3 separate regions of the Homo sapiens genome follow, and all the other regions are linked to region 2. Evidence: promoter capture Hi-C in 16 types of primary human blood cells and fetal thymus (Javierre and others, 2016). All regions are on one chromosome and are shown on one strand. Each heading gives the region's core, a stretch centred on a gene start or on the middle of the fragment in contact. The rest is flanking DNA. Distances are from core to core; before and after follow the strand shown. Region 1 holds the start of GZF1 (GDNF inducible zinc finger protein 1). Region 2 holds the start of CST9 (cystatin 9). Region 3 overlaps NAPB (NSF attachment protein beta).

Region 1 (3,308 bases), core at 267-2,766, 240 kb before region 2:
CAGCCAAGCAATCTATTACACACATTTTCAAGATAAACAATAACTAGCTCTCAAGGGAACTTGGCAGCATTTTTCATCACACACAGTTCATCTAACCTGATATTTGGGATGATCCTCTGTGTTAGCCAATTGGCTTTATCTAGAGGAAAAAGAAACTTGTATCTTTATGATATGAGATAATTTTGTAAGTTGGAGCAAAGGGCCCACTGAAGTTAGGCTCCTACTCCCCCATTAAAACTGGGAGACAGGGGCATTAACTCCCTTGATACTTAAAGAGATGGCTCCTAGGTCCTAGAAAAAGACATATCTAGGTTATAAAGCGCACAAAAAGGCCTAACTAGTCTTCAAAAGGATTTATATATTTCAAAGAGAGGAAAAAGTACTTACACTAATTACCAATTTTCTAAAAGTAAATGTTCGAAGAAAAAGGGAGGGAAATCTCATATTTTCAACAGGAAGTAGTAAACCTTATTTTAAATTTGTATTTGTCCTGACAGTCCCCAAACATTACAAACTCAACGTGTCGGTAAGACAAGGCTGAGTTAACTGCTGGCCACAGTAAGGGACAGCATGACCTGGCAAAGCTTTACCAATGGCTGGGAGCAAAAGGCAAGGTCAGTTTATTGAGAACTGGAAGTCTGACTCAAGGAAGGTGTTTCAAAGCGGGCTTTAGTTAGTATTGAGCAAGAATTGGTGGAAACAGCAAGATTTCGAGGAGTCAGCGAATCTTAGGGAATCAATTGTGCTTTCCCCGAAGAGTGGATGGGTCTCTGGGGAAGTTCTGTAGTGAACAAAGCTTTCGCCCGAATGGGAACTCCTGGAAATAAAGCCCTGCAGTAAAGACGGCAGGGTGCGGTCCCGGCTCCTGGCGCGCCGAGCCCCCCAGCAGGGCGGGGGCACCGCGGAAGAAGCGCCCCAGAGGAGAGCGCCGCGCCGAGCCCCGCCTGGCGCCAGTTCTCCAGCGCCCGTGGAGGCATCTGCGCCCCTAGTAGCCAAGGTGAGTACCAGCTCCAAGCCCGGCTTTCCGCGAGGTCCCTCGCGTGGCCACCGTGCCCTAAGGGTGCGCTCGGCCTCGGGGACGTGAGCAGCTCTTAGTGGGAAGCCAGCTGCAGGCCCTGACCGCAGGCTGCTGGGGCCCGGAAGCGCTGGCGCCTTGCGGCCAGAAGCCCGGAATGGACGCGAAAGTGACCACGCGAATCTGACGCTCACGTGACTTTTCGCGACTGGCCCCGCCCCCCTGTGGCGTGCCGCAGCGCAGACGTCGCTGTCTCCTGCGCAGGCGCAGGCCTTGGCTCGCGGCGGGTGACGCAATGCGGCGGGTGACGCAATCCGGCGTCGCCAGTCAGTCGCGCGGCCAGATCAGGTAACTGCCCGAACCGCTCCGCCGCCCGACGTGTGGCTCAGCCCCTTCCTCAGCCCCGCCAGGGGCGGGGCCGGCCGCGGGAGGGGAGGGGCCTGCAGCGACCAATCGGCGGTGCCCGCGCAGGGTGCTACGCCACGCCCAGCCGGGCCGGCCGTTCCTACCGGCCTGGTCCAGCGGACAGCGGCTGCAGCGGGGGCGCCGGCTGGGAGGTGAGTGCGCGGCCCGTAGGCCTGGCTCCGGCCCCTCGCCGCCCGCCGCCGCCTCTTTGTCCGCGCGCCCCGGCTGCTCTGTGGACCTGCGCGTCTCGGGGATGCGGGAGCGGGGGCAGGGGGCGGCCCGAGGGCCTGATCCACGCGGCCCCGGATGCCCGCGTCGGGAGGCGGCGCGTCGGGCCGAGGAGGGGCTTCTCTGTGGCTGCAGTAGTTTGTTCTCTGGGTCGTCTTTGGAGTGGCCGAGCGGCGTCCGGGCGCTGGGGCGGCCAAGTGGCGCGGGAAGGGTGGGAGGTGCCGTGAGGGCGGCGAGGACAGCGGCGGATTTAAGCCCCACTGGAAACCCCGGCCCTTGTGGCCGTGGACTGGGCTGCGGGTAGCAGCGTCTCCTGGAAGGGCTCTGGCCCCGTGAGCCTCGGGGATTCAGGGGCCGCCGACGTTGGTGCAGATGCCGGGCGCACTGGGAGGCGGCCGGAATGCCAATGAGATTCGGCGGATACGCAGCTGTCACCGGCCGCAGACTGCCCTGTCGCCACCTCCAGTGCCTGCACTCCAGTAGCCAAGCAACATAGGAAATCGCGCTCAGAACCCACTTTGTTGATTGAGAAATCAGGTCTCCTCGAGGGCCCTGTTGGCAGAGGTCTGGGGAAGTCAGGGCATCAGGCTGAGAGAGCCCTCTGCAGTCTTGTTTCCCCAGGCTGGGGCTGGGACCACTGAAACCCCAGTGGCTCTATAAGAGCCCCACTCTTATAGATCCCTTCCTTAGGCTTTGTCAGTGTTCTCACAGTTTTACTGGGGCGTCTCCTTCAGGCGACATTGATCAAGCCTCATAGGTACCTGTTTACAGCGGAACTCCCAGAGGGCAGTCTTTTCCATGTTTGAGGGACTGCTAGTTGTGGGGAGCGGTCTCATTGATGAGACTGGAGAAGGGGAGAGGGGTGGGACTAGTTTATCAGGGAAGATGATGACAACTTTTTTTCTAGACACGTTGAATCCGAGGTGACATCTGTGGTCTGGCCGAAGGAGGCTAGAAGGAAGGCATGTGCTTTGGATGGATGGAAACAGGAATCAAAGAGGAAGGTAGATTCAGGAGCTGAAGGGCAGGGAGAAAACACATTCAGGGAGTTTGTGGCAAAGCAGCAGAAATGACGATGGGGTGACGGTATCTGGAGGCCTTAGGTGGGGTTGGTGAAATTTGCATGCCCGCTGCAGTGGAAAGATTTAGGGGCTAAAGATAGCCCTTTGCCTTTGGCAAGGCTGAGGGGAAGAGTGTGTTGAGTAGTCTGAGTTGAATCCGGGCACCAGGCCCTGGCTCATGTCCCAACCAGCCATTGACTGTTACCTTGATAGGTCCTCATCTATGAAATGGGGATCACTGTAGCACCTTGGCCTATGTGTGGGAAACCAATAAACTAGCCAACAAGTTTCAGGCTCATGGAACCCTGGTAACAGCCGGTCAGCCTTCTTCAGAGGAGGAAATGGGTTCAGAGAAGTTGCTTGCTCAAAGTAGCACAGCTTGTAAAAGCTGTGGAACTTAACATTATTTCAGTAGAGTAACAATAATTCAAATTCTGAGGAGTTTAGGATGTTGGGAATGGGCGATGAATTGTGAACTACTTTTCCAAGAAGTTTTCCTCATGGAAAGTAGTTATTTAGTTGGTTCTTTTCAAAGGCAGAAATGATTCCCTGAGGTTTTGGATTTGCTCCCAGATGGTGGTGGCTATGTGTTTTAATTA
Region 2 (3,060 bases), core at 14-2,513:
CAGGCTTTTAATTCTCCTGAGAGGAGGCAGCAAATGAGCAAGGAGGAAAATTCCTCTGTACCAGCATTGGAATCCTGAGGATGGCAGTGAGGAATCCACCCCAGGAGGCAGAGAACCAGCCAGAGCCTTGCACAGAGTCTTTCCAGAGCTTAAGCTCTGTGCGGTACTAGAGTCCCTCTGCCTTTCTTTCAGGCTCTTGGTGCTGAGAAAGGAAGAGCAATGCTCCTTCTCTCTCTAAACCAGAAGTTCTCCACTAGGAGGGCATTTTAATTGTTCATGCCTGAAGCCCAGATGAACTGTGCATTCCTGACCACATTTAATGATTTCATCAAAAAGGCAAGCATTTTAGGATAAAGGTCCATTGAGGAAGAGTGTAAATTGGCCTTCAGTTCATTAAGTGCAGACAGAGCAAGGAGCCCAGAGAAGGTGGAGATCAGAGAACTAACCTTTCACGGTGGCCTCTCAGGGCTGATGGTGTTCTTTATTGCCCTCGAATTCTCACTGTTCTCTCTCTGTCTGCCTGTCTCTCTCTCTCTCTGTCTCTCTCTCTCTGTCTGTCTGTCTCTCTCTGTCTCTCTCTCTCTCTCCCTCTGTGTGTCCTTGCTTTTCCATTTTCATTTTATGACCTGGAAATGTTTATCAGTCTCTTTGGTTATTTTCTCTTCTTGTCAGCTTCATCTCCTTAGAAGTCCTTATTTTGAAGTCACTCTTCAGTTATACAATGTCTTAAAAATCATGAAGATTGAAAAATATATTTTGCATGTGAATAGACATTTACCTAATTTAAAAAAAATTTTAAGTTCAATGTTTTCCAAAACTAAAACTACCGTAATTGGTTGTGGACTACCTGACTATGGACTGCTGATGGTGAACCAAGTCTCCTAGACTAGACATCTTGGTCCCTCACTTAGGGGCAGATGGAGAAGGACAGGCCAGAAGAGGATGTGGTCACCAACCTTTCTGTCCATGCTATCCTCCCTCCATGAACTCAGGACGCGCAACAGCCTGTAGGCATGCTCCTCCTTGCTCTGCACGTTGAAAGTGTTCAAGGCAAACTCCACTGTGGCGAGGAACATAGGATCCTGGACTATTTTATTATTACCACCCATTTCCTCTTCAGAACACCAGGCATAAGTCACCAGGAGCTGGAAGCCCATGAGAAGCAGTGACAGTGCCCAGGGCATAGCCTTCCTCCTCTGCGGACTCGACATGATGCAGGCTCCAGCAGCCCTTGCCTTTGCCCTTCAGATCCCTGGCGTCCACTGGAGCCTTCCAGGGCTCAGGTCTGGCCTTTAAATTCACCTGCTGGGGCAGAAACTCCTCCCTCCAGGCCTCACCTCTGCAGTTACACCCTGTCTCTCCCACACATGGCCTCCCTTCTTCCAAAGGCGTTTAAATCATCTCCTGTTTAGGGGAGAGGAACAGCACCCAGGCAGGTGGGTTGGAAAAGACTAGCAATGGGAGAGATAGTGCCCTGAACATGAGGCCCAGCCCCAGCTGCCCCAGCACCTCCGCAGGCTAAAGGAGACCTCTACTGGGCGCCCCAGAGTCAGAGCCCGGCACAGGAACACAAGTGTGAGAGGTATGAGTGGAAGGTGAGCCCTGGACTCAGCAGTGGGGGTGGGCTGGGAGGGGGAGGTTAGGTGGAAAGGCAGAGACAAAAGGATGGAAAGGGATGACAGTGGATGCTAGTATCATGGGTGAGCAGGTACAGCGCCCCGAGAAAGCACTGGGCCTCTTGAGAGAGAGGCGGGGAGCCCGGGAGGATTGGCGGGATGTCCTGCAGGTGTCTGCTCCCCCGAGGGTCTCGGGAGGGGGGCACCAGCCTGGGGGTCGTGGGCAGAGGTTGAGGAAATCAAGAGCAGGAGCCCCCAACCCTGTTCTCTGCACCTCCCTAAATGCAGCTTCCCAGCCCAGGGACGCGCTGCCAAGTGCTGGTACTAGGGGCCTGGCTAGTTATGGCTGCCCCTATTCCTCAAAGGTGTTTCCAGGACGGGTGGCCGCTTGCAATTGGAGCAGTGGAGAACCAGAAAGACGAAGATGCCCTCAGGGATGGCTGAAGTGCACCCATTAGGTTGTCACGGGTTCCCTCCTGTGGCCACAGCCGGCACAGCACTCTGCGGCACAGTTTGTGGGTGGAGATTCTGAGTTCTCGACCAAGACCCACATAGCCTCCAACTCCAACCGCAAATGGGGCTCTCAAAAGACTGAATAATGCACTCTTCACAGACCAGACTTAAGCTTTGTCCCTGTGAAATATGCCTTTGATGTTTATCCGTAGCTCCTTGTAAACTTCAGAAGCAACCAGCATCCCCTGATGTCACGTTAAAAAGCAAGTTCCTAGTTTCCCCACCCAAAGATTCTGACCCAGTAGCTGTGAGCAGGGCCAGGGAAACTACATTTCTCACCAGCTTCCAGAGGATGGTTGTGTTCCCGGTCTCAGAACCATACTTTGAGTGGTGCAGGTTCAGAATACTTCCTGGGAAGTGCATACAGACCAAACCACATATGAGAAGTAACTCAGCTTGAGGGGCATGGAGGTCAGGGGATGAGAATGGCTTTTGTGGGGCACACAGGATGGGGGACAGGCTTAGACAGCATGCCTGGTGATAAAGAATAAGAGTTTGTTTCTAGACCCTGTTTGCAAAGAAAAAGCAACTCAATGTGACAATTCCAGGAAAGCAGCCAGATGTGCCAAAAACATCACCCAAGGAGTCTGTATCCTTTCTCTGATGGCGTTGAGTTCACTGGAACTGCAGCTGAAGCGTAACTAATGTGGTTTCTTAGCTGGAGAGTGATGGTGCACGTAGGGGTAGGAAGGGGGTGTCAGTGAGGGCGGAAATGCCTTTGTGGGTTTTGGGATGAGCAGGCCATAAGGTGCTGTGAGAACTAGAATCCTGATGCCTGGAATAGGTTGCGAGTGTCCTGAGAGAGGCCTGCAATGCCCATGGAGGTCACTCTCACCTTGTAAGTTCAGCGGCTGACAAACTTGGGGCATCCTGCCAATTGCCAGTGGCTCCCCCACCATTCTGAGGGCCGATACCCACATGTGCTCCAAGG
Region 3 (3,002 bases), core at 122-2,621, 200 kb before region 2:
TTGTCATAAACTGACCATAACTTTAAAACTTCCTGAAAAAAGGTACTTTTGAAATTACACCGGATGCTTATTTTGTTTTATGTGAAAGTTAATTTTTTGTAAATTTTATGGACAAGTATTCAGAATTTGCATTCAAAGTAACAACTGTTATCCAGAGGTCTCACAGTGAGGCAGAAGATCCTTGGAAAAAATATTCTGTGGGGAATCCATATTACGCAGCAACATAAGTTAAACACTTAGCACTCAATTGACATTAAGAAGCTAAACTGAGCTAAATTAACTATTTTTTTGTATTACAGGAATCTGACTTGGAAGAAGAAAACATTTTCCCCACCGTGAAAGAAAACACTGCCCAGCTAGCACAAAAACCACTGCCACCTGGCTGGCCCAGGTGAACCACCCTTGCATTCCAGAGGCAAGGCAGACTCTCTTCTTCTTGACCGTACTTATTCAGGAAATATTTACTGAGATCCATATGTGCCAGAAAACACTAAGGAAATAAACTTCTTGCCCACAAGGAGGTCACGACACTGAGGAAAGAATATCAAGCTTCACGGCCAGAAGGGTCTGAGAAAAAGCCTATCAATTCCCCATGTTCCCCTGAGGAAACATTGTCAAAGCCACAAATGTCCCACCAGGAGCCAGTGAACAGCAGAGCTGTGAAAACCAATTCATCTTCAAATAATCTAAAATCTTGATTTCCCCCATCCTGAATAATAACTATTGCAGAGCATTGTAAAACTATGACAACTATAGTCCGTACTATTTTAAAACTGTGGGTGGGAGGAAGGAGACATCGTAGAATTGTGAGAACTAATGACACACACATCATGAGATGTACCTCAAAGAAAAAGGCTGACAACTCCTGAGATAGAAATAAAGTTGCCTCTAAAATCACAAGATATTAGAGTAGAAATACCACAAAAAGTGACAGTGACAGTACTATGAAGATAAGCATGTAGAACCAGAGGCAAAATTCAGCTCTAACATCAGGATGCCATGAAGGGGTGTGTCAAGCCACCCCAAAAGACTGAAAAGGGACTTGCCCAGTGTGGGGAGCCTGGGGGGATCCCCACAAAGCATGGTACCTCCTTCTTCTCATTATTTACCAGCAGTATCTCCTTAGCCACTAGACTGATGCTCTGGGGAAGAGGAAGCAGCACAGGGCCTAGCACACAGGCCACAATAACAAGGCTGATGCTTAGTGTCTGGATGGAACAAACTGTCCACATTCATTTTTTAAGGTTTCCCATGTATGCCTCAAAATAATAAGCAAATGTAGAAAGAATCCAGAAGAGAGGAAAATTCAAAATCTGTCTGAACGTGCCTCTGCCATACACAACTACTCTGTGATATTATAGGCTCTATAAACAATTTATTTCCACCTGATGCTTCACTTCTGGAAACTCCACAGATTCTAAAAACTTGGGGCTTTCCTAGGTAAACTTAACCCTTCCAAGATTACTTTATTTCAGTGCTTAATATATTTTAAAACAGTACAAATCTTTTATGTGATGCAAAAGTAGAGATTTCTTCCGTGGAGGAGATGCAGAGGCCCCAGAAGGACACAAAACAACTGGAAGAGATATTTTTACATGTTCTCAACACAAAGAAATGATAAATGTATGAGGTGATGAGTATGCTAACTATCCTGATTTGATCATTATACAACACAGACGTATATCAAAAAATCAAACTGTACCCCATCAATATATGCAATACAATGTGTCAATTAAAAACTATTTTTTTAAAAAGGTAGGAGGGAGATACTCTCCAGAATGCTAATTTGAATTCTTACAGCAAAAGGCAGCATTTAAATGTTTCACTGTTCTTTTATAAATCGGTAATGCAGAAGCCCAAGGTATGGTGGAAAGGCCCAGGGCATGGGCTTGAGTCAGACCACCTACAAATGAACAGTATCATTTATTTACCAGCCTCCAGTTCCCTGGAGCAGCCAGGCCTGTCTTGGCCTTGGAGAGAAAGAAAAATTCCACCAAGCCAGCTAGCACTGTACCAGTAAGGGGAGCGCTGTCTCAGTGGCCTTGAGCTTTTGGAATCAATTTTCTAAGAACTTTTCAGTTTACTTCTGCTTAATTAAGGACAAAAATCATAGATTCTCAAACAGAGAAAATAATCAGAGACATTTAAGGCCTGTGACCAAAGTATTTGTGTTTAAGCACAATTTCCTGAAATAAAGCTTATGAGAACAAGTATAACAAAGAAAACTAGTTAGACTTTATTTTGACAATAGTTTTCTAATGCCTCAACTTTATATGGGGAGTAGTCATCTTTATAGAGAAGAAATAGGTATACACTGGACCTATTTATAAAACAAAACAAACATATTTAAATACTTAAGAAAGATAATGGTAACTGCTAGATTAATTCAGAAATGACTGTTACATACAACCTGATTTACCAAGAGCAGTTTTTAAATTGAATTTCAGTCTTTATAAAAATTTAAGCTGAATTTCAGTCTTCAGAAAATACTGATGAGACATGTGATTCCCAAAAAATCATGGTGGCTGCTTAGATAAATATATCCACACATCCTCCAAAAACCTTATAGATCAACAAAAAGCATACACAACCACCCATAATCCGTGCCTACAGCAAAAGGAGGCAGTATTCAGCAAGCCTCCATTAAATATAATTTAGGAAATAAAAAATCCAAAACTACCAGAGCTAGCAACACTGCCTCTGCTGCCAGTCAGAGGGGCGTCTGTCGACAGGAGAGGGGAGTTTAACCTGGCAATCATTGTCCAGGGAAGAACTCTCAGCAAGGAAGTGCCCTACCAGGGTGGGCAAACACCCCAGACCAGGTGGAAGACCTGGCAGGTTAGAGCACTGCAGTTGGGAACTGAATAGAAGGGCTTTGCCACAGGCTGCAGTTTCCAGAAGACACTGCTTCTGGGAGAAGGCAACTTAGAAGGTGGGGGCAGCTCTATGGAGGTTTGGCAGTGAAAGGAAAGAAGGCAAGTGATGGAAATACGTTCTTGAAA

The links. The method cuts DNA at HindIII sites, captures the fragments that hold promoters and counts their contacts. A CHiCAGO score of 5 or more calls a contact.
Region 1: the fragment with the promoter of GZF1 here is called in contact with the fragment with the promoter of CST9 in region 2 in 16 of 17 cell types (M1 macrophages, M2 macrophages, fetal thymus and 13 more); the score reaches 30.2 in M1 macrophages.
Region 3: a contact is called between a fragment that was not itself captured here and the fragment with the promoter of CST9 in region 2, in 2 of 17 cell types (M0 macrophages and fetal thymus). The highest score is 5.5, in M0 macrophages.

What each region holds. Positions count from the first base shown.
Region 1 is chr20:23,360,666-23,363,973 of GRCh38, forward strand. GZF1 (GDNF inducible zinc finger protein 1) reads left to right here and starts at 1,517. Exons shown (of 6, transcript NM_022482.5): 1 at 1,517-1,572. RefSeq lists silencers at 803-892, 1,313-1,802 and enhancers at 983-1,242, 3,057-3,116. The HindIII fragment of the contact is 6,657 bases long and covers 795-3,308 here.
Region 2 is chr20:23,604,654-23,607,713 of GRCh38, forward strand. It overlaps CST9 (cystatin 9), which reads right to left and starts at 1,264. Exons shown (of 2, transcript NM_001008693.3): 1 at 957-1,264. The coding sequence starts at 1,211. The HindIII fragment of the contact is 2,472 bases long and covers 1-2,239 here.
Region 3 is chr20:23,407,168-23,410,169 of GRCh38, forward strand. All of the region lies in intron 1 of NAPB (NSF attachment protein beta), which reads right to left. Among named protein-coding and RNA genes, the nearest start is that of NAPB, 13 kb to the right of the region's middle. RefSeq lists enhancers at 981-1,040, 1,181-1,240. The HindIII fragment of the contact is 1,648 bases long and covers 548-2,195 here.